Regions from separate parts of the Homo sapiens genome. Here regions 1, 3, 4 and 5 are each linked to region 2. Evidence: promoter capture Hi-C in 16 types of primary human blood cells and fetal thymus (Javierre and others, 2016). All regions are on one chromosome and are shown on one strand. The core of a region is centred on a gene start or on the middle of the fragment in contact, and the rest is flanking DNA. Distances in the headings are between cores, read along the strand shown. Region 1 overlaps TAPBPL (TAP binding protein like). Region 2 holds the start of PHB2 (prohibitin 2). Region 3 holds the start of PIANP (PILR alpha associated neural protein). Region 4 holds the start of MRPL51 (mitochondrial ribosomal protein L51). Region 5 overlaps CHD4 (chromodomain helicase DNA binding protein 4).

The links. The method cuts DNA at HindIII sites, captures the fragments that hold promoters and counts their contacts. A CHiCAGO score of 5 or more calls a contact.
Region 1: a fragment that was not itself captured here is called in contact with the fragment with the promoter of PHB2 in region 2 in 2 of 17 cell types (naive CD8 T cells and activated CD4 T cells); the score reaches 5.9 in naive CD8 T cells.
Region 3: a contact is called between the fragment with the promoter of PIANP here and the fragment with the promoter of PHB2 in region 2, in 8 of 17 cell types (non-activated CD4 T cells, naive CD8 T cells, total B cells and 5 more). The highest score is 11.8, in non-activated CD4 T cells.
Region 4: a contact is called between the fragment with the promoter of MRPL51 here and the fragment with the promoter of PHB2 in region 2, in 10 of 17 cell types (non-activated CD4 T cells, total CD8 T cells, total B cells and 7 more). The highest score is 13.8, in non-activated CD4 T cells.
Region 5: a contact is called between a fragment that was not itself captured here and the fragment with the promoter of PHB2 in region 2, in 5 of 17 cell types (non-activated CD4 T cells, naive CD4 T cells, total CD8 T cells and 2 more). The highest score is 7.5, in non-activated CD4 T cells.

The regions. Positions count from the first base shown.
Region 1 is chr12:6,458,205-6,461,956 of GRCh38, reverse strand. TAPBPL (TAP binding protein like) reads right to left here. Exons shown (of 7, transcript NM_018009.5): 5 at 3,010-3,312; 6 at 1,019-1,102. Among named protein-coding and RNA genes, the nearest start is that of TAPBPL, 8.0 kb to the right of the region's middle. The HindIII fragment of the contact is 2,094 bases long and covers 423-2,516 here.
Region 2 is chr12:6,968,797-6,972,193 of GRCh38, reverse strand. It overlaps PHB2 (prohibitin 2), which reads left to right and starts at 1,530. Exons shown (of 10, transcript NM_001144831.2): 1 at 1,530-1,777; 2 at 1,914-1,998; 3 at 2,617-2,696. The coding sequence starts at 1,651. EMG1 (EMG1 N1-specific pseudouridine methyltransferase) reads right to left here and starts at 1,281. Exons shown (of 6, transcript NM_006331.8): 1 at 1,103-1,281. The coding sequence starts at 1,270. RefSeq lists enhancers at 974-1,093, 1,144-1,323, 1,414-1,483, 1,004-1,606. The HindIII fragment of the contact is 5,065 bases long and covers 1-2,959 here.
Region 3 is chr12:6,698,768-6,702,376 of GRCh38, reverse strand. It overlaps PIANP (PILR alpha associated neural protein), which reads left to right and starts at 1,562. Exons shown (of 5, transcript NM_001244014.2): 1 at 1,562-1,763. RefSeq lists an enhancer at 2,281-2,782. The HindIII fragment of the contact is 12,862 bases long and covers 1-3,609 here.
Region 4 is chr12:6,490,941-6,494,647 of GRCh38, reverse strand. It overlaps MRPL51 (mitochondrial ribosomal protein L51), which reads left to right and starts at 1,386. Exons shown (of 3, transcript NM_016497.4): 1 at 1,386-1,590; 2 at 1,676-1,786; 3 at 2,181-2,762. The coding sequence starts at 1,512. The coding sequence ends at 2,377. NCAPD2 (non-SMC condensin I complex subunit D2) reads right to left here and starts at 546. Exons shown (of 32, transcript NM_014865.4): 1 at 494-546. RefSeq lists a silencer at 589-918 and enhancers at 354-951, 1,119-1,168. The HindIII fragment of the contact is 4,003 bases long and covers 1-1,581 here.
Region 5 is chr12:6,591,180-6,595,063 of GRCh38, reverse strand. CHD4 (chromodomain helicase DNA binding protein 4) reads left to right here. Exons shown (of 40, transcript NM_001273.5): 15 at 414-605; 16 at 1,448-1,648; 17 at 1,836-1,973; 18 at 2,247-2,368; 19 at 2,498-2,671; 20 at 3,007-3,148; 21 at 3,239-3,370; 22 at 3,481-3,598. Among named protein-coding and RNA genes, the nearest start is that of CHD4, 14 kb to the left of the region's middle. The HindIII fragment of the contact is 4,036 bases long and covers 1-3,726 here.

The sequences.
Region 1 (3,752 bases), core at 220-2,719, 510 kb after region 2:
TTCCATCTGCCTCCTGTGCTCCTTCCTAGGTCCTTGGCCTGCTTGTCCTGTCCCAGGGGATGTGCCCAGATAAGGCTGTCAGTGAACACCCCCTTACCCCCTTTTCCCCATCATCCTCACGTACAGTTTTGGTATGCTGAGTTCCACCGTATTGATTAGGCACATTTTAGAAACGAATAAAAAGGAGAAGTCTCTCCTTGCAGCTGAGGGAGTGAGGCATTTGCAGGTATCCTGAACCTCCCAGCAGTCACCCGAGGGAGCAGAACCCTAATTGCAGCTGAGGTGCAACTGAGATGGAGCCACGGGGGTGCCTCTGAGGGCCTTTGTTTCATACTTAAACACTTTGCAAGTTGGAGCCGCTAGGCTTGGTGACAGGGCTCAGTTGGGACCAGTGTGGAGAAAGACAGGAAAGTGGAAAAGCTTGGTCGCAGCAGACACAAGGGCCTTTTATTTTGACAGAGCTGAGTTTGGGAGGGGTAGCCCAGCCCCAACCCATGCCTCATTGTCCCTCACTTGTTCCTTCTCCATTTCCTCCAGCTTTGTTTTCCTACCGTCACACCACCAACCTGGCTCTTTGGTCTTATCCTCCATCTGGACATTCTGCCTTCTTCTTGTCCCCTCACTTCTTCCTGTTCTCTGCCTTGGTGCATGAGCCCAGGGTGCACAGTGAAGGAAGGCAGAGGCCTCTGCAGAGCCAGGCCCAGTGCCCCATGAGCTGGTGCCACCTTCATGTATTTTTAGCTCTGTGACTTGACTTAGAGTCCTTCTGGGAGCACGTGACTACTCTTTCTTTCTACTCTGAGGCAGGAGAGTGACAGACTTTAGTGAGGTAGCTAGGAGAAAACGAGGGAACACGACTGGTTTCATTTTCATTTAGGGCAAACTCAAAAGCAGGAGGCTGTGATGGGTGGGTGGCTGGAGCTTGGGGCATCTGGGCTTCCACCCTGGTCTGGGCGGGGGGGTGGTTAGAGTGGGTGAGGTGGGCCAGGGCCAGAGCCAAGGGCACCCAGGCTCTTACCTTGCCGTCTCTGAAGCCCCAGGAACATCAGTGCAAGAAGGAAGAGACTGCTGGCAAAGATGACTCCCAAGGCTGTTCTCCGCTCTGTAGGTGAGAGCAACGTGGGCGGGGATCATCGTGCGCAGGAATCATGAGCTGAGCCCTCACCTGCAGTGTCCACCCCAGGGAGGAGGAGCTAAGGATTGTGTGTGTGAGTCCCTGGTTGAGGAGCCTGGAACAAGGCACTCAGCAGCATTTGTTCTTATTCAAGGTTGCTGGATACTTGTGAGTTACTCCACACAGAATTCTCTACCTCTTCCCACCTAAGGACAAGGTTTTAAAAATTGCTTTGCAAGTGAGATTTAGGTGGGTTTATTTGTTAGCACTTAACTTGCCTGGACACAGTGGCTCATGCCTGTAATCCCAGAACTTTGGGAGGCTGAGGTAGGTGGATCACCTGAGGTCAGGAGTTCGAGACCAGCCTGGGCAACATGGTGAAACCCTGTCTGTACAAAAAATACAAAAAATTAACTGGGCATGTTGGTGTGCGCCTGTGGTCCCAGGTACTTGGGAGGCTGAGGTGGGAGAATCACTTGAGCCTGGGAGGCAGAGTTTGCAGTGAGCTGAGATCGTGCCACTGCACTCCAGCCTGGGCGACAGAGTGAGACCCTATCTCAAAACAAAACAAAATAAAACAAAGCAAAACAAAAAACCACCAGTTAACTGGGATTTTGTAAATAGTTGGGGAATGATGTGAGCTGAAGTGAAACCTCAGTTTTGGGGAAGTTCACAGTCTAATGAGCAACCAAATAATGCCCAGTGCTCCTGGATGTTTCCACTTCAAGTTGCGGGTTCTTTCCTGTCCCTTTCCTGCTTAAAACCTCTCGACAGGCAGGGTGCGGTGGCTCATATCTGTAATCCCAGCACTTTGGGAAGCCGAGGCGGACAGATCACCTGAGGTCAGGAGTTTGAGACCAGCCTGGCCATCATGGCGAAACCCCATCTCTACTAAAAACGCAAAATTAGCCAGGCGTGGTGGTGCGCGCCTGTAATCCCAGCTACTTGGGAGGCTGAGGCAAGAGGATGGCTTGAACCCAGGATATGGAGGTTGCAGTGAGCTGAGATCATACCACTGCACTCCAGCCTGGGGAACAGAGCAAGATTCTGTATCGAAAAAAAGTAAAATAAAATAAAATAAATAAATAAATAAATAAATAAATAAATAAATAAATAAAACCTTTCAACAGCATGCTATGGCTCTCAGGAAGTTCCAGCTTGAAGGCCCAGTGAGATCTACAGGGTTTAATTAAGCCCGTAAGGGGAATCCGGTTGCCTGTTTTTCACATTCTCTCTTTACCATTGATTGATAGGTGACCTTGGGCAAATTCATTGACATCTGCAAGTGCCAGTTTACTCACCTGTAAAATGGGAGTCATGATCCATGAAATCATACATTTAAGTGCTTTCTACACTGCTTGATTCATGTAAATGCTCAATAAATAGAATTACCTCCGAAGCTTCAGAGCCACTTTCCCTTTTTCCCATATACCCTAAGCTCTAGCTGTGCTGAATTACTTGCAATTCTCCAAATTCTCTTTAGGCTGTTTTATGATTTGGCTTTCATATATGCTATTGTTTCTATCTTGAGTGTTCCCTTCCCTCTAAGCTAGTTAACTTGGCTCAAATGCCATCTTCTCTGTCTACTTAGTCTTGTCTCTATTACTGGACTAAGCTCCTGGAGGGCATGATCAGGAATTATTCATCTGTGATCTCCAGCCTTAAGCACATTGCCTGACACCCTGGAGGCTGGAGTATAATGAAGTCTCAGGGGATGTGTGGTAGAAGCTGTGGCAGCTGCCGCCTTGGGAAAATAGTCAGGAGCAGAGGCAGGAGCATGAAGCCAGGGCTGCGAACAAAGTGGATGGGCAGCAGAACAAGGCCATAGATGAGCTGGGGCAGGAGAGCCATGAGCCCTAGTGTGGAGGTGGGGAAAAGGAGGACACTCCCAGTACCTGGTGGGACAACCTGGGTGCTGGCCCCAAGGGGCTCCTCCAGAGAGATGTGTGTGACCTGGCAGGTGTAAGTGGCACCTGCAGAGCCAGGTTCTGCGGTGAGAGAGGAGGAGATGCTGTAGGTGCCTGCCACGCTTTGCCTGAGGCTGGAGAAGGAGGCACCAGAGACTTGGGCTGGGGATCCACCCAGCTCCTCTCGGGTCCACGTCACCACCACATCCAGAGGGTAATAGCCAGCAATGTCGCAGATGAGGGTGGGCAGCAGAGCTTCGTTTGCCAAGCTCAGTCGTACTTTAGGGGAAGCTGGAGAAAGAATGAGGAATAAGATTACACATGGATCTAACTGGGGACAGCGGAGGAGCCTGAAGCCTTTTCTTCCTGCCAAGATGAGAGTAGATTGTGGAGGCTACAGTGTCCCTTGGTGGTGTACCAAGGCGGGGGTGTGTGAGGGGCCCACCTGGATGCAGGCCGTAAGGGGGCAGGGTTACATTTTCCAGAAAACAGATAGTAAAGCCAACTAAAGATTGGCTGGCTTCTTACTGTCATTCTAAGCCAGTTTTTTTTTTTTTTTTAAGATGGTGTCTTGCTCTGTCGCCCAAGCTGGAGTGCAGTGGCATGATCTTGGCTCACCGCAACCTCCACCTCCGGGGTTCAAGCGATTCTTCTGCCTCAGCCTCCTGAGTAGCTGGGACTACAGGCGCGCACCACCATGCCTAGCTATTTTTTGTATTTTTAGTAGAGAC
Region 2 (3,397 bases), core at 281-2,780:
TCTGGAGGCTGAGGCAGGAGAATCGATTGAACCCGGGAGGCGGAGGCTGCAGTGAGCCAAGATCGTGCCACTGCACTCCAGCCTGGTAGAGACTGAGACTCCATCTCAAAAAAAAAAAAAAAAAAAAGTGTATTTAGAACGAAGATTAAAATCCTGGCCTGACTTCTAAACCAATGCGATTTCTTCTGGGCCTATTCAATTAGTTCTAACGGGTAAGAGAAAGGAGGAGGAAGAACACTGCCCAAGGCTTTAAGATAGAGAACTGCTGGTTCTATTACATGTGGGGAAAGAGATGAATGATAGATAAAAATGCAGATGTAAAAGTTTTAAATAATAACCAGGTCTGGACAGTGTATCATAGGTGGATATTAGAGAGAGGTGACTATGGATACTAATGAATTGAAACACGAAGCCCTTACAAAAAGTGTGGGCAGACTAGGCTACATAACTACGTTTCTCATCTGCCCAGTAACTTGTCTTGGGATGTGGAATGACGCAAGGAACGAAACTTTCCTCTGCTTAGACTACTATACCACAGAATCCTGGTAAACCAATTGGAAGCAAGGAGGTGAGGGCTAGAATATCATTCAAAAAGAGCAAAAGAAAATGAGTACTACCGGCCGGGCACAGTGGCTCACGCCTCTAATCCCAACACTTTGGGAGGCCGAGGCGGGCGGATCACTTGAGGTCAGGAGTTCGAGACCAGCGTGGCCAACATGGTGAAACCCCATCTGAACTAAAAATACAAAAAAATTAGCCGGGCGTGGTGGCACCTGCCTGTAGTCCCAGCTACTCCAGAGGCTGAGTCAGGAGAACTGTTTGAAGGCGGGAGGCAGAAGTTGCAGTGAGCCGAGGTCGCGCAACTGCACTCCAGCCTGGGCGACAGAGCGAGACTCCGTCTCAAAAAAAAAAAAAAAAAGAAAGAAAAATGAGTACTACCATCCCAGGATGTCAAATCAACGCAAAGCCAACCAAGCCACCTTCCTTCAAAAGCATCTTTCACCCCTCTCTGCTTTCTACATCCACTCTGGGCCCCTTACCCTCATTCCACGGAGTCCCAACCTATCGATTTACTACTTCTCCACTTCCTGTCCCAAACTACCTTGACTGTCTCCAGACTGGCCCCTTCCAGCACCACAATAAGCCTACGGCCTCCGATCTTGTTTCCTGCCCCTAGTCGGGGCCGCTTGGGTGGCAGAGCATCCCAGTCCTGTGCCTGCTCCCCACCGCTTCGTTCACGAGGCTTGAATCCATCACTGGGCGCGGCCATCTTGCAACAATACCGGAAGTTGCGCTAACGCTCTTAAATAAGAACAGCGCGGCTTCTAATCACAAATTTCCTTCCGGCTGCCATTTTGAAAGTGGGCCAGGAAATGGAGATGACTTGCTGTCTTGCGCTGCCCTCCCTGGGAGGGCAGCCTTCCAGAAAGGGGCGGGACTTCCGTATGCGCGATTCCTGTGCGCGAAGTTCGGGTCCGTAGTGGGCTAAGGGGGAGGGTTTCAAAGGGAGCGCACTTCCGCTGCCCTTTCTTTCGCCAGCCTTACGGGCCCGAACCCTCGTGTGAAGGGTGCAGTACCTAAGCCGGAGCGGGGTAGAGGCGGGCCGGCACCCCCTTCTGACCTCCAGTGCCGCCGGCCTCAAGATCAGACATGGCCCAGAACTTGAAGGACTTGGCGGGACGGCTGCCCGCCGGGCCCCGGGGCATGGGCACGGCCCTGAAGCTGTTGCTGGGGGCCGGCGCCGTGGCCTACGGTGTGCGCGAATCTGTGTTCACCGGTGAGCAACCTCCGCCTGCTCGCCGGACGCTTCCAGTCCCTCCCCCAAACCCCTTGCCCTGTCCCCGCGCCCCTCCACGGGCCTAGCATTTCCTCTGAGCAGCGGCCTGGCCTGATCACCACCCATCTCCCCACAGTGGAAGGCGGGCACAGAGCCATCTTCTTCAATCGGATCGGTGGAGTGCAGCAGGACACTATCCTGGCCGAGGGCCTTCACTTCAGGTAATGGCGGGCAGAGCCTGCTGACCCTGACCTTTCACCCTTGACGCCGACCCAGCAGTGGCTATAGTCGGACGTGCAACAGGATTCAACGCTGCTCTTTTCCCACCCTCCTCATCCCTGCCCCTAGGATAGTGGGTGCTGCGAGAACCTCCAGCAGCATACAAACTGTTGTTTTCCAGAGGGACAAGAGAATCTCTCCTTGTCTGTGGTCGTGGAGAGGAGCAGGCCAAAAAACGCGTGGTGAGGGGAAACCGGGCAAGGCTAGTGAAACTGCGGCCTTTTCTTTTTTTTTTTTTGGAGAGGGAGTCTTGCTCTGTCGCCCAGGCTGGAGTGCAGTGGCGCGATCTCGGCTCACTGCAACCTCCGCCTCCTGATTTCAAGCGATTCTCCTGCCTCAGCCTCACGAGTAGCTGGGATTACAGGCGCCCGCCACCACGCCCGGCTAATTTTTGTATTTTAGTAGAGACGGGGTTTCACTATGTAGATCAAGCTGGTCTCGAACTCCTGACCTCAAATGATCCGCCCGCCTCGGCCTCCCAAAGTGCTGGGATTACAGGCGTGAGCCACCGCGCCCGGCCGAAACTGTGGCCTCTTAATACCTATCCCTGTCCTCTCCAGGATCCCTTGGTTCCAGTACCCCATTATCTATGACATTCGGGCCAGACCTCGAAAAATCTCCTCCCCTACAGGCTCCAAAGGTAGGTCTGAGCACTTGGTAATCACATGGCAGGTGGGATGATCAAGGTAGCTGGCAAGAAACCCCAGGGGAATATGGTAGTGTCAGGCCTTTAGGCCTCTTTCCACATCTGCAAGAGCTGTAACAAAAATACCTGCCTCCTGGGGTCAAAGCAGCAAATTCTGAACACACTGTGTTTGCGTGCTTTTTACTGTCTCCTCCCTGACGTGTATTCAATAAGAGTATTGTTTGTCCCTCGTCTTGTTCACTGCCTAGATCAAAGCTTTGTTTTAAAGCCTTTTTTTTCTAACTGCTTGACTTACTATATCTACAGTTACATCCACTAGTACACTCTGTTCTGGAGAAGTTTGTCCCTAAGCTTGACTAGTTCACCTGTTCTCTCCTTCTAGACCATACATAAAAGCCGTGCCTTTGAGTTCCCCAGACCTCTTCCTCCTCCCCACCCACGCACACATATACACCCTGGGTCAGGTAGCTCACCTGTAACCTGTAATGTACTTCTTTGTGCTATACCTAGTGCAGGTCGCTTATTCATTTACTAGACTGGGCCCTGGGAATAAAAGATTCATTAAACACAATTCTTGTCCCCCAAGTCCTTACAGGAGACATGATTACGGTACAGCACGAAAGCGCCCACGTTAGAGGTTGCACAGAGTACAGAGGGGGAAAGAGTAGTCAGCTCTGCTGGTGACGGGGTTTGCA
Region 3 (3,609 bases), core at 313-2,812, 270 kb after region 2:
GACAAGGGCAGAAGCAGGGACCAGTGAGGAAGCTATTATGATAATCTGGATGAGACATGATGGCTTAGACCAAGACTATAGCAATAAAGATAGAAGGAGATGAATTCGGGATATATTTTGGACGCAGAGCCCACAGGACTTGTTGGTGAATTAGATACAGGGAGAGAATCAGTGAAAAAAAGGGGAAGGGAGGGATGTTTCCTAGATTTTTAGCCTGAACAACTAGTAGTTGTGAAGCCTCAGGATGGGGATCACTGGGAGAAAAATGGATTGGGGGTGGGGGAATTCAAGACATCTATTTTAGTCAAGTTAGCTTTGCATGGCTATTAGACATCCAAGTGGAGATGTCAAGTAGGCTGTCGGATAAATGAGTCTGGCGCTCTGGATATAAATTTAGGACTCACTGACATTTACATAGTATTTAAGCCCTGGGACCGGATGAGATCACTGGACAGAGAATGTGGAAAGAGAGAATGGCCAAGGACTAAGCCCTAGGAGGCTCCAACATTTAGAGGTCACCCGAGGAAGACTAAGAACAGTCAGTGAGGTTGGAGGGAAATGAGGAGAGTGTGGTGTCCTGGAAGTGCCCTGAGGAAAAACAGCGTAGTGTGGTAGAGAGGGATGGGATCCAGGTGGTGGGAGAAGGGGCAGGAGAGGCTACTTTTGATAGAGACATTAGGGAAGGCCTCCCAGAAGGCGTTGGATCTAAGTGAGACTGGAATGAAAACAGTAAGTCATTGTGAAAAGCCAGGGAAATGTATTACTGAGGGAACAGCAAGTGCAAAGGCCCTGAGGCAGGTTAAACCTGTCTCCAACCAGGAAATCCACCAGGTCCCATGTGGCTGAAGCATAGAAATCTTTAGGAAAGGCAATCAGAGAGCCACCTAAGAGCCAGGTTATATAGGGTCTTGTAAGTCACAGCACGGAGTCTAGGTATTCCAGTGCTGGAAAAGCCCAGGAATTTCGACGTGATCCACTTAATGCATGGTAGCAGGGCCAGAGTGAAATAGGGGATCAAGCTGTGGGGATAATCCAAAGATGGTGCAAGGTCCTTCCTCCCCAGTCCTTTCCTCCACCCCTTGCCCCCAGCCTTGACCTCAGGCACTTTCTACAGCGGGCAAAACCAAGTTGGGGGACAGGCAGTGGTGACTCACGCCTGTAATCCCAGCACTCCGGGAAGCTGAGCGGGAAGGATCGCTTGAGCCCAGGCGTTCGAGACCGGGCTGGGCAACACAGCGAGACCTCATCTCTACAAAACACAATACAAAAGAACAAAGTTGGGAATGCAGAGCATTGAGTGACTCAGAATCTCAGAAACTGACTGAGGCGACCATGGGTGTCCCTGGAGTTGGGGTGAAGGAGGTGGGGAGACTGCCATCAGAACCCAGGGAAGCGGACGGTCGCTGGACCCTGCCAGCCTCTTCAGCCCTCCACCTGGGACATAGCCTGGCTTGACTCCTGCAGCGCGGCAGCAGGAGGGTTAAACCGTGCGTGGCCTCCGGCGCGGGGGGGAGGCGGAGACGGAGACGGAGCGGTCCCAGCCGCCGCGCCGAGCCCAGCCGAGCCGAGCCGAGCCGAGCCGAGGCGAGCATCTCCCACCGCCGCCGCCCCGCGCCCCAGGCGCCCGCCCCCCACCCGCTCCAGCGCCCTGCCGCGGGCCAAACCTCCCCACCATGCCCCGCACCCCGCCCGCTCCTGCGACCCCCCAGCCCCGCTCAGTCCCGAGCGCCCGCAGTCGTCGCGCCGCCGCGCCAAGCATGCAGGTGAGTGAGAGGGACCCCCACGCCCCCACCCGCGGGGAGCCCGGCCCTGCCCTTCCCGGCTCCGCGCCCTGCGCCTCCTGCCCCTCCCGACGCGGTCCCTCGCCCGGGACAAGGCCTCCAGCCTCCCAGCGCCCCTTCCCCGAAGGGCTCTCCATCCCTCCGCGGTCCTGGCTCGCTCCCGCCCTCCCTGGCGCAGCCGTCCCCGTCCCCGCGGCTGCCTCCATCCCGCCTCGGCTCGGCGGGCGGCTCCGCGCAGTCTCCTGCTTCGGGTCCCCAGTCCGCTCTCGGCACTCCCTGCCTCGGGGTCCCTTCGCCGACCTCCTTTTCCTCGTCTCCCCCCACTCTCGCCGCTCTCCAGCCCTGTGCGGGGAGTGCGGGCCTGCGGGATGGGTGGGATGGGGGCCACGCTGGGGCTGGGGCCCGGCTCCCGCACCCCGAGGCTCCTGCCCCACCCCCAGCTCGTCTCCTGCGCACAACAGGTCGGTGAGAAGCTGGGAGAGGGGTGGGGGTGGCGCGCCAGCCCGGGGACTGCGGGCTTCCTGGAGGGGGCGGCTGAAGCTGTGCGGGGCCCAGGGACTGGGTTGGCGCTGGCTGGGGGTGGGGATGCACAGGCGGAGGGGCGATAGTCCTAGAGTCAGCTGGCCACAGATGCGCCCTGGGAGCCCTTCTCCGCTTCACTGGTTCGCTCTACACGCCTCGCTCCCTCCCTCTAGCTTTCTTCCTTTCCCCTCTCTCTCCCTTCTTCCCACCATGCCCCCATCCCTATGTCTTTCGGTATCTCCACATCCCTTTACATTTGGGGGAGCAATTCCGAACTCCTCCATCTTTGCTGCTCCCGCCTCTGCTTCCCAGCCCGTTCCTCGTGTCATTTTTCCTTAAGCATTTATGTTCTCTCCTTCCCCACTTCCTTTCTCCCCATCCTGGGCTTTCCCCCCTTTTCTCCCATCCCCTTACTCTCCACTCCTCTGGCTGTCCTGCCTGGACCGCTCTCTCCTTCTCCTCCTGCCCCTTCTTCCCCTGCACCTGTGACCCCTTCATCCTCTCCGTTTCCCCTCCCTGACCTTTTCTCTCATCCTTTCCTCCCTTCGGCATCCTCCACAGTTCGAGTCTTCTGTACCCACTCTCCTCCTCTCTTCCCAGTTCTCTCTTTTTCAGGACTGCCTGCTCTCTCTCACCCTGCACTCCAGGCCAGCTTCCTCTTCACATTTCTCCTCTCTCACTCTTAACCAGCCTTCCATCTCCCAGCCCTTCACCCCTTCCCATCTCTCCCACTGCCTGCTTCCCCACGCCCTTCCCGTGACTTTCCCATCTTGTTCCCTTGTTGTTCTCTGGGAAGATTCAATGGGCAGATTTATTTATTTTATTTTTTGAGTCGGAGTCTCGCTCTTGTTGCCCAGACTGGAGTGCAATGGTGTGATCTCAGCTCACTGCAACCTCCGCCTCCCAGGTTCAAGGGATTCTTCTGCCTCAGCCCTCTGAATAGCTGGGATTGCAGGCGCCCACCACTACCCCCGGCTAATTTTTGTATTTTTAGTAGACACGGGGTTTCACTATGTTGGCCAAGCTAGTCTCGAACTCCTGATCTCAGGTGATCCACCCGCCTTGGCTTCCCAAAGTGCTAGGATTACAGGCGTGAGCCACTGCGTCTGGCCCATTGGGCAGATTTAGACCCAGAATCCACAGGAAACGGGTATCCTATCTTCACTCCCTCTGGGGAGCCTGCCCCTCCTGGATCCACCACCCTCAGCTCTGAGAACACACCCTTTCTCTTTCAAAACCAACCATCCCGATTTTCCCAGGATTCTTTACCCAGGAGAGCCACATTTGAGGGGGTGGTTTCTTCCTG
Region 4 (3,707 bases), core at 137-2,636, 480 kb after region 2:
GCAAAGCTCCTTAAGTATAGAGAGAATGGTCTGATCTCGTCTGAGGCCAAAACAGTGCCCCAGCATGGGCTAGTGGGCTTCCTGCACCAGAATGGTAAGAGCATTAACAATGATGATTTATTTATCCTGTGCCAAGTCTGTTAGGCTGTTTGCATGTATCATATCTGATCTAAGTATCCTAACCTCAATCCCATGAGGTGCATAATAATACAAATGAGTTTACAGAGCGGAAATTGAAGTAAGAAAGTTAAGCGATTTGCTTAACATCTTCCGTTGCGGATCTGTTAAGCGATTTGCTTAACATCTTCCGTTGCGGATCTGTTAAGCGATTTGCTTAACAACTTCCGTTGCGGATCTGTCAGACTTACAGTTTCTCACACATCGCGCCCCAGGGATATACTTACTAGGCCTATTGTATTTTGCCCAAGACTGGGTCACACTGCCATGTACTCGACTTTCCTACTCTTTTACGACCTGCAACACCACATCTTACCTGGGGATCTCACCCGCGGCTCTGATTCCGGCAGTCAGGCTGAAATGAAAAGGAAAAAACACGCGTGCACAACACGCACCAATTAGCAAGGCAGTTTTCAAGTCGGCGGAGAATCCGGCCAATCCCCGGCAGGCAGAGGCAAAGGGCCGCCTCTGAGTCTGGCAACGCGCGGGCAAAGCCACAAATACCGAGTTCAAATCTCAACGGCTGCAGGACGGCCAATCGCGACGCCCGCCGGAGCGGCCGGCCAATCACAGCGCCGCCCGGGGGCGGGCCAAGGCTCCGGCTCCGGCCCCCGCTCCCACCCCCGGCCCGCCTGCGAATCCCTCCTTGGCCGCAAGGTCCCCCTTTGCCCAGTCGGCGGGGAGGAGGCCGTATTTCTGCTGGCCAGAGACGTCGCGTCCCTGGCTGGGCATTCAGTCACCCCCAGGAAAGGAGGCAAGTCCACGCTGGGAGTTAGAAGGCATCGCCTCTAATCCAGGTTTCGCCATCTCCTCTGCTAAGTGACGTCCAGCAAGTCACTTCACTTTCAGGACCTCAAATCTCCTCCCCAGTAGTAAAATAGGGGTAATAAAAACAGCTACAGCGGAAGACTGTTGTGAGGCACAGAGAAAGGGCTTGGTCATTGGAAGCGGGTTCCAGGTTCTCAACCTTCATTTCCTTCACGGTTGAAGGACGCCAAAGAAAGCGGAAAGGGTGAATTTTCTTGAAATCTCAGTTTTGGGGAATCTTAGCGACGAGTCGCGGACCTCAGCTTGTCCGGCGCTCCAAAACTTCCGGCAGGCGGACCGGAAGCACTGAGGCGGGAAGGGTGGTAGAGGCCCCTCCTGCCGGAACCCGGGGGGCGGGGCTCGTGGCTGTTGCGGATGGGGCGTAGGTGGGCGGTGCGCCCACAGCTGCCTGGGTAAGGCCCAAGATGGCTGTCTTCGCCTTAGTACTCGTGTGAAGTTGGCGGGGACGGTTCCTGTCATCTTCTTGGGCTTATTTGGTGTGCTGTTGAAGGGGGGAGACTAGAGAAATGGCAGGGAACCTCTTATCCGGGGCAGGTAGGCGCCTGTGGGACTGGGTGCCTCTGGCGTGCAGAAGCTTCTCTCTTGGTAAGTGGCTGATGTAGGCACCCCGATAACTGCTTCGTAGTATAATAGGCGGCTCAGATTAATTCCCTCCCTTCCCCATCCCCAGGTGTGCCTAGATTGATCGGTATAAGGCTCACTCTCCCGCCCCCCAAAGTGGTTGATCGTTGGAACGAGAAAAGGGCCATGTTCGGAGTGTATGACAACATCGGGATCCTGGGTAAGACTTGACCTTCGACGTGGTACACAATTTCAGAATGGCAATTAGGCTGTAACGACTATCTTTTCCTCCTGTGTAGAGAGTGGTACTGTGCTCAATAGTAAGAGCAAACACTTATGTAGCTGTTTACATTGTGTTTGGCACTGTTCTGAGTCCCCTCGTATAATTTTTACTTCATAAGTAAAAATAAACAGTTTTTCCAAAGTTAATAAATGGCAGCATCAGAATTTTAACCCCAAGCAGTCTGGCTCCAGAGTCTGTGCTATTGTTCTGTACTGTAATGTTCCTTGTCTATAGGTGCTGCTCAGCAAGATGCAACCGTGGGTTGAAAGCTTAGCTGGTGTAGGATGAGTTCTCTTGTCTTGGATCTAATGTGTTCTCTCACATTACACAGGAAACTTTGAAAAGCACCCCAAAGAACTGATCAGGGGGCCCATATGGCTTCGAGGTTGGAAAGGGAATGAATTGCAACGTTGTATCCGAAAGAGGAAAATGGTTGGAAGTAGAATGTTCGCTGATGACCTGCACAACCTTAATAAACGCATCCGCTATCTCTACAAACACTTTAACCGACATGGGAAGTTTCGATAGAAGAGAAAGCTGAGAACTTCGGAAAAGGCTCATCTGTCACCCTGGAGAAGGGAAACTGTACTTTTCCCTGTGAGGAAACGGCTTTGTATTTTCTCTGTAATAAAATGGGGCTTCTTTGGAATTTGATAGCCACATACTTTTGTTTTCCTCTAGATGCTGCCTCTACTCATGTAGACTATGAAGTCTTGACTCATCCTAGATCTTAGGATCTTAGGTTTGGGCTTCACACCACTTGCCTTTTACAGTCTAGCTATACCTAATTCCTTTAAAAAGAAAAGTTGGTGAGAATGTTATTGGCGCTTTTTGACATAATGCTGTTATGTTAATAGTGTTTCTAAAGAGCCTTCCACACTGAAATGAAATATAAGAGAAAAATGGAGTCATACTTCTGTACTACTCTCATAAAATATTTATTAGGCATATTCTCTGAGTAGGAACTATAGGAAAAACAAAAAAGTGTGAGGTGTCCTTTCCATTTAAATATGAAACATTAAGTACCATATGAATGGTAGAGATGGCGGATACTAAGCCTGACTGGTCATCAGTTTTCTGGGTGTTTTAACATTTCAAAAGCCTAGTCCTAACCCCTAAAGATTGATCAGTAGAGCTGAGTTGAGTCTAGGGCATCTATGTGTTTTGTTCTTTTTTAATAATAATTTTTAAGAATTACAGCTGGGCAGAATGGTGCCCACATGTAATCCCAGCATTTTGGGAGGCTGAGGTGGGAGGATTGCTTGGAGACAGGAATTTGAGACTGGTCTGGGCGACATGGTGAAACTCCGTCTCTACTAAAAATAAAGTGGCTGGGTGCGGTGGCTCCTGCCTGTAATCCCAGCACCTTGGGAGGCGGAGGGGGGCGGACCACGAGCTCAGGAGATCGAGACTATCCTGGCTAACACAGCCCTGTCTCTACTGAAAATACAAAAACAAACAAACAAAAAAATTAGCCAGGAGTGGTGGCGGACACCTGTAGTCCCAGCTACTCAGGTGTCTGAGGCAGGAGAATCACTTGAACCTGGGAGGTGGAGCTTGCAGTGAGCCGAGATCGTGCCACTGCACTCCAGCCTGAGCAACAGAGCAAGACTCTGTCTCAAAAAAAAAAAAAAAACAACTTAGCTGGGCATGGTTCTGCATGCCTGTAGTTCCAGCTACTCATGGTTCTGCGTGCCTGCAGTCCCAGCTACACAAGAGGCTGAGGTGGGAAGATCACCTGAGCCCAGGAGTTTGAGGCTGCAGTGAGCTGAGATCATGCCACTGCATTCCAGCCTGAGCAACTGGGGTGAGACTGTCTCAAAAAAAAAAAAAAAAAAAAAGTGAAGTTAGGGCTGGG
Region 5 (3,884 bases), core at 459-2,958, 380 kb after region 2:
TTTTATGCACTTACATAGGAATCTGGCTTAATTCAGGCTCAGTTCCTCTGGGTTTTGTTTGTACAGTGTAATTTGAGGGTGATTAAAGTTAAAAAGATGAATCTAAGAGGGACATAACGATTATTTACCTGGTGGATCCTGACTAGTAGAATTATTGTATTGGTAGGGAGTCTGTGACGTGCTTTTCCTCAGTGATCTGTAGGATCAAAATCAGGTCTGGTTAAGCCCTGTTTCCTGGAGGACCCTAAACTGAACATGAAATTGCAGTAATCATAGGGGATCTCTTCCCTCCGAATTTTCCGGAGCTCTTCCCCAAGAGGATCCGTGAAGACTAGTGAGGAGGAAGCAGCTGCTCTATTAGGGGAGGAGGGGAGTTCCTTGCCAGCTCTTGACTTCTCTGTTTCATCCTTCAGCCAACAGTGAAGTATGAGCGACAGCCAGAGTACCTGGATGCTACAGGTGGAACCCTGCACCCCTATCAAATGGAGGGCCTGAATTGGTTGCGCTTCTCCTGGGCTCAGGGCACTGACACCATCTTGGCTGATGAGATGGGCCTTGGGAAAACTGTACAGACAGCAGTCTTCCTGTATTCCCTTTACAAGGAGGTAAGGAAATCTGGGGTGGATAGTTTTTTGTGTGGGTGTTTTGTGTTTGAAGCCTTAACTTACACTGAGTAGAGAGATAAGGGAATAAAAAAATTGGTCTCTGACCTTCAAGAACACTGTGGATAATAGATAAACACATGTACACATGTGTTTAGTAGATAGTAGATAAATGTGATAGTGGATAAACACATGTACACAGCGGAAGATTTGAGGGCATGGAGCCCTGGGTAGGATTAGCAGTGGATCCATAGAGTATCAGTTCTAGGGGAATGATTGTGTGTTGAGGGAAGTAGAATTATGAGTAGAATTAGTATGGAAAGGCTTGGCTGGACGCAGTGGCTCATACCTGTAATCCCAGCACTTTGGAAGCCCGAGGTTGGTGGATCACCTGAGGTCAGGAGTTCGAGACCAGCCTGACCAACATGGCGAAACCCCGTCTCTACTAAAAATACAAAATTAGCCGGATGTGGTGGTGCACGCCTGTAATCCCAGCTACTTGGGAGGCTGAGGCAGGAGAATCGCTTGAACCCGGGAGGTGGAGGTTGCAGTGAGCTGAGATTGCGCCATTGCACTCCAGCCTGGGCAACAAGAGTGAAACTCCGTCTCAGAAAAAAAGTATATAAAGACTTAATGGGAGAGGTAAGACTTGTAGTTATGGTGGGACCTTGGGTTTTTGGAAAGGAGTGGGCTGGGCACTTGTATAGAGGAAGGTGAGAGCAGGAGCAGCAGCGCAGGTGTGTCAGTCCTTGGCTCAGCTTGAGGGGGCAGCAGGGTGGTGGGTGTTCGCTGGGGTTGCAGTGTGCTGGGGCCCTCAGTCCTGACTCTCCTCTTTTTTCTCAAAGGGTCATTCCAAAGGCCCCTTCCTAGTGAGCGCCCCTCTTTCTACCATCATCAACTGGGAGCGGGAGTTTGAAATGTGGGCTCCAGACATGTATGTCGTAACCTATGTGGGTGACAAGGACAGCCGTGCCATCATCCGAGAGAATGAGTTCTCCTTTGAAGACAATGCCATTCGTGGTGGCAAGAAGGCCTCCCGCATGAAGGTATCTCAGGGGAGGGAAGCCACCCTAGAGAAAGAGTTGTGGCTTCTGGCTTAGTTTACCTCCTTGTGATCTGGTCCCTGGTGAGGCAAAAGGGTAACCCTGGGAGGAGGAAAACATTCCATCAGTCTCCTGGTTGTGCTTACACAGAGGAACTGACTAGTAGTGACCAAGTTGCCTTCATGTGCAGAAAGAGGCATCTGTGAAATTCCATGTGCTGCTGACATCCTATGAATTGATCACCATTGACATGGCTATTTTGGGCTCTATTGATTGGGCCTGCCTCATCGTGGATGAAGCCCATCGGCTGAAGAACAATCAGTCTAAGGTGAGGGCTGAGGGAGGGATGTTGGAGCCCCCACTTTGGGTTTTTTCTAGTACTACCAATTCATTAAGGGGAAAACTTGTAGATGGAGAGGAGAGGGGAAAATTGTCTCTGCCTTCCTTCCTTGTATGTGACAGCCCTTGGTGGCCAGGCCTTTAAAAAGAATGTGAGGAGTGGGATGCTTAACTATTGGGCAGTGAAAAACTTGAAATTTTGTAGAGATTTGCTAGAGCTCTGTTTTCATTGGATTTCACCTTTCTCCATCTGCTTCACCAGTTCTTCCGGGTATTGAATGGTTACTCACTCCAGCACAAGCTGTTGCTGACTGGGACACCATTACAAAACAATCTGGAAGAGTTGTTTCATCTGCTCAACTTTCTCACCCCCGAGAGGTTCCAGTAAGTATGTGTTTATCTGTAATCGGCTCATAATTGTGCCTCTCATTCTTCCTGTTGCCCATTTCCTGTATCACTTTTCTTTCTTCCTTTCTCCTTCTCCAATAACTTTTTTCCTTTTTCTTTCTGAAGCAATTTGGAAGGTTTTTTGGAGGAGTTTGCTGACATTGCCAAGGAGGACCAGATAAAAAAACTGCATGACATGCTGGGGCCGCACATGTTGCGGCGGCTCAAAGCCGATGTGTTCAAGAACATGCCCTCCAAGACAGAACTAATTGTGCGTGTGGAGCTGAGCCCTATGCAGAAGTGAGTTGGGAGGGACAGAAGCAGACTCCATTTAGACATCTGCCAGTCTGCAGAGTGTTTCCTATTCCTCCCCCACTCAGCTTCAAGGCATCTGGTGACAGGAGCAAGCAAGGCCTGAAGAAACCTGATGCTAGGGCGCTGGAGCGCATAGTTCTTACTTATTTTAGGTTATACCTTTCCTTATTTAAAATGGTGGTGGTGGTAGTGCTTGTGCGTTAGGTGTCCTTAGTTCCAAAGTGGGATGTGTTGGAAGAAAGATCTCAGTTGTTGGCACTGCATTATTAGTCATTGAAAGGCTCTCAAGTCTAACCTGTCTTTCTACCTTGCCCATGTAGGAAATACTACAAGTACATCCTCACTCGAAATTTTGAAGCACTCAATGCCCGAGGTGGTGGCAACCAGGTGTCTCTGCTGAATGTGGTGATGGATCTTAAGAAGTGCTGCAACCATCCATACCTCTTCCCTGTGGCTGCAATGGTATGTAGTGCCATCTCCTGTTCCTCCCTGGGTTGGGTCTTCTCCATGTGGGCTTTCTTTTAATACTTTTTTCTTTGCATTTGTTCTCAGGAAGCTCCTAAGATGCCTAATGGCATGTATGATGGCAGTGCCCTAATCAGAGCATCTGGGAAATTATTGCTGCTGCAGAAAATGCTCAAGAACCTTAAGGAGGGTGGGCATCGTGTACTCATCTTTTCCCAGGTATCATGTGGACTGGGAGCTTTAGGGAACAGTCATAGACAACCCTTAGTGACCTAAGGAAAGGGATTACCATCTGACTCTTCCATAATTAAACCGTGCTTCTTTTGCAGATGACCAAGATGCTAGACCTGCTAGAGGATTTCTTGGAACATGAAGGTTATAAATACGAACGCATCGATGGTGGAATCACTGGGAACATGCGGCAAGAGGCCATTGACCGCTTCAATGGTGAGAGAGAAGGAGTTGTTTAGTTTCAGGAATCCTCATTTGCTTATATCTTTGGACTGTAACTTCTTGTGCATCTCCTTTTCTGTGTAGTTCTTTTGGGACTTTGTCATTTGAGATGGAGTAAAGCTTTTGAATGTCTCAATTGGACGAATGTATTGGACTATTCCTAGGAGATTTTTTCTTTTGGGGTATTTGTTCTTTCTGCTAGAAAGAAGAAAGCATTGTATCTCGAGGGCAAGCAAAGGGTCAGGACTTGTTCAAGCTCAAATAGCAAGTTACTAGCAGA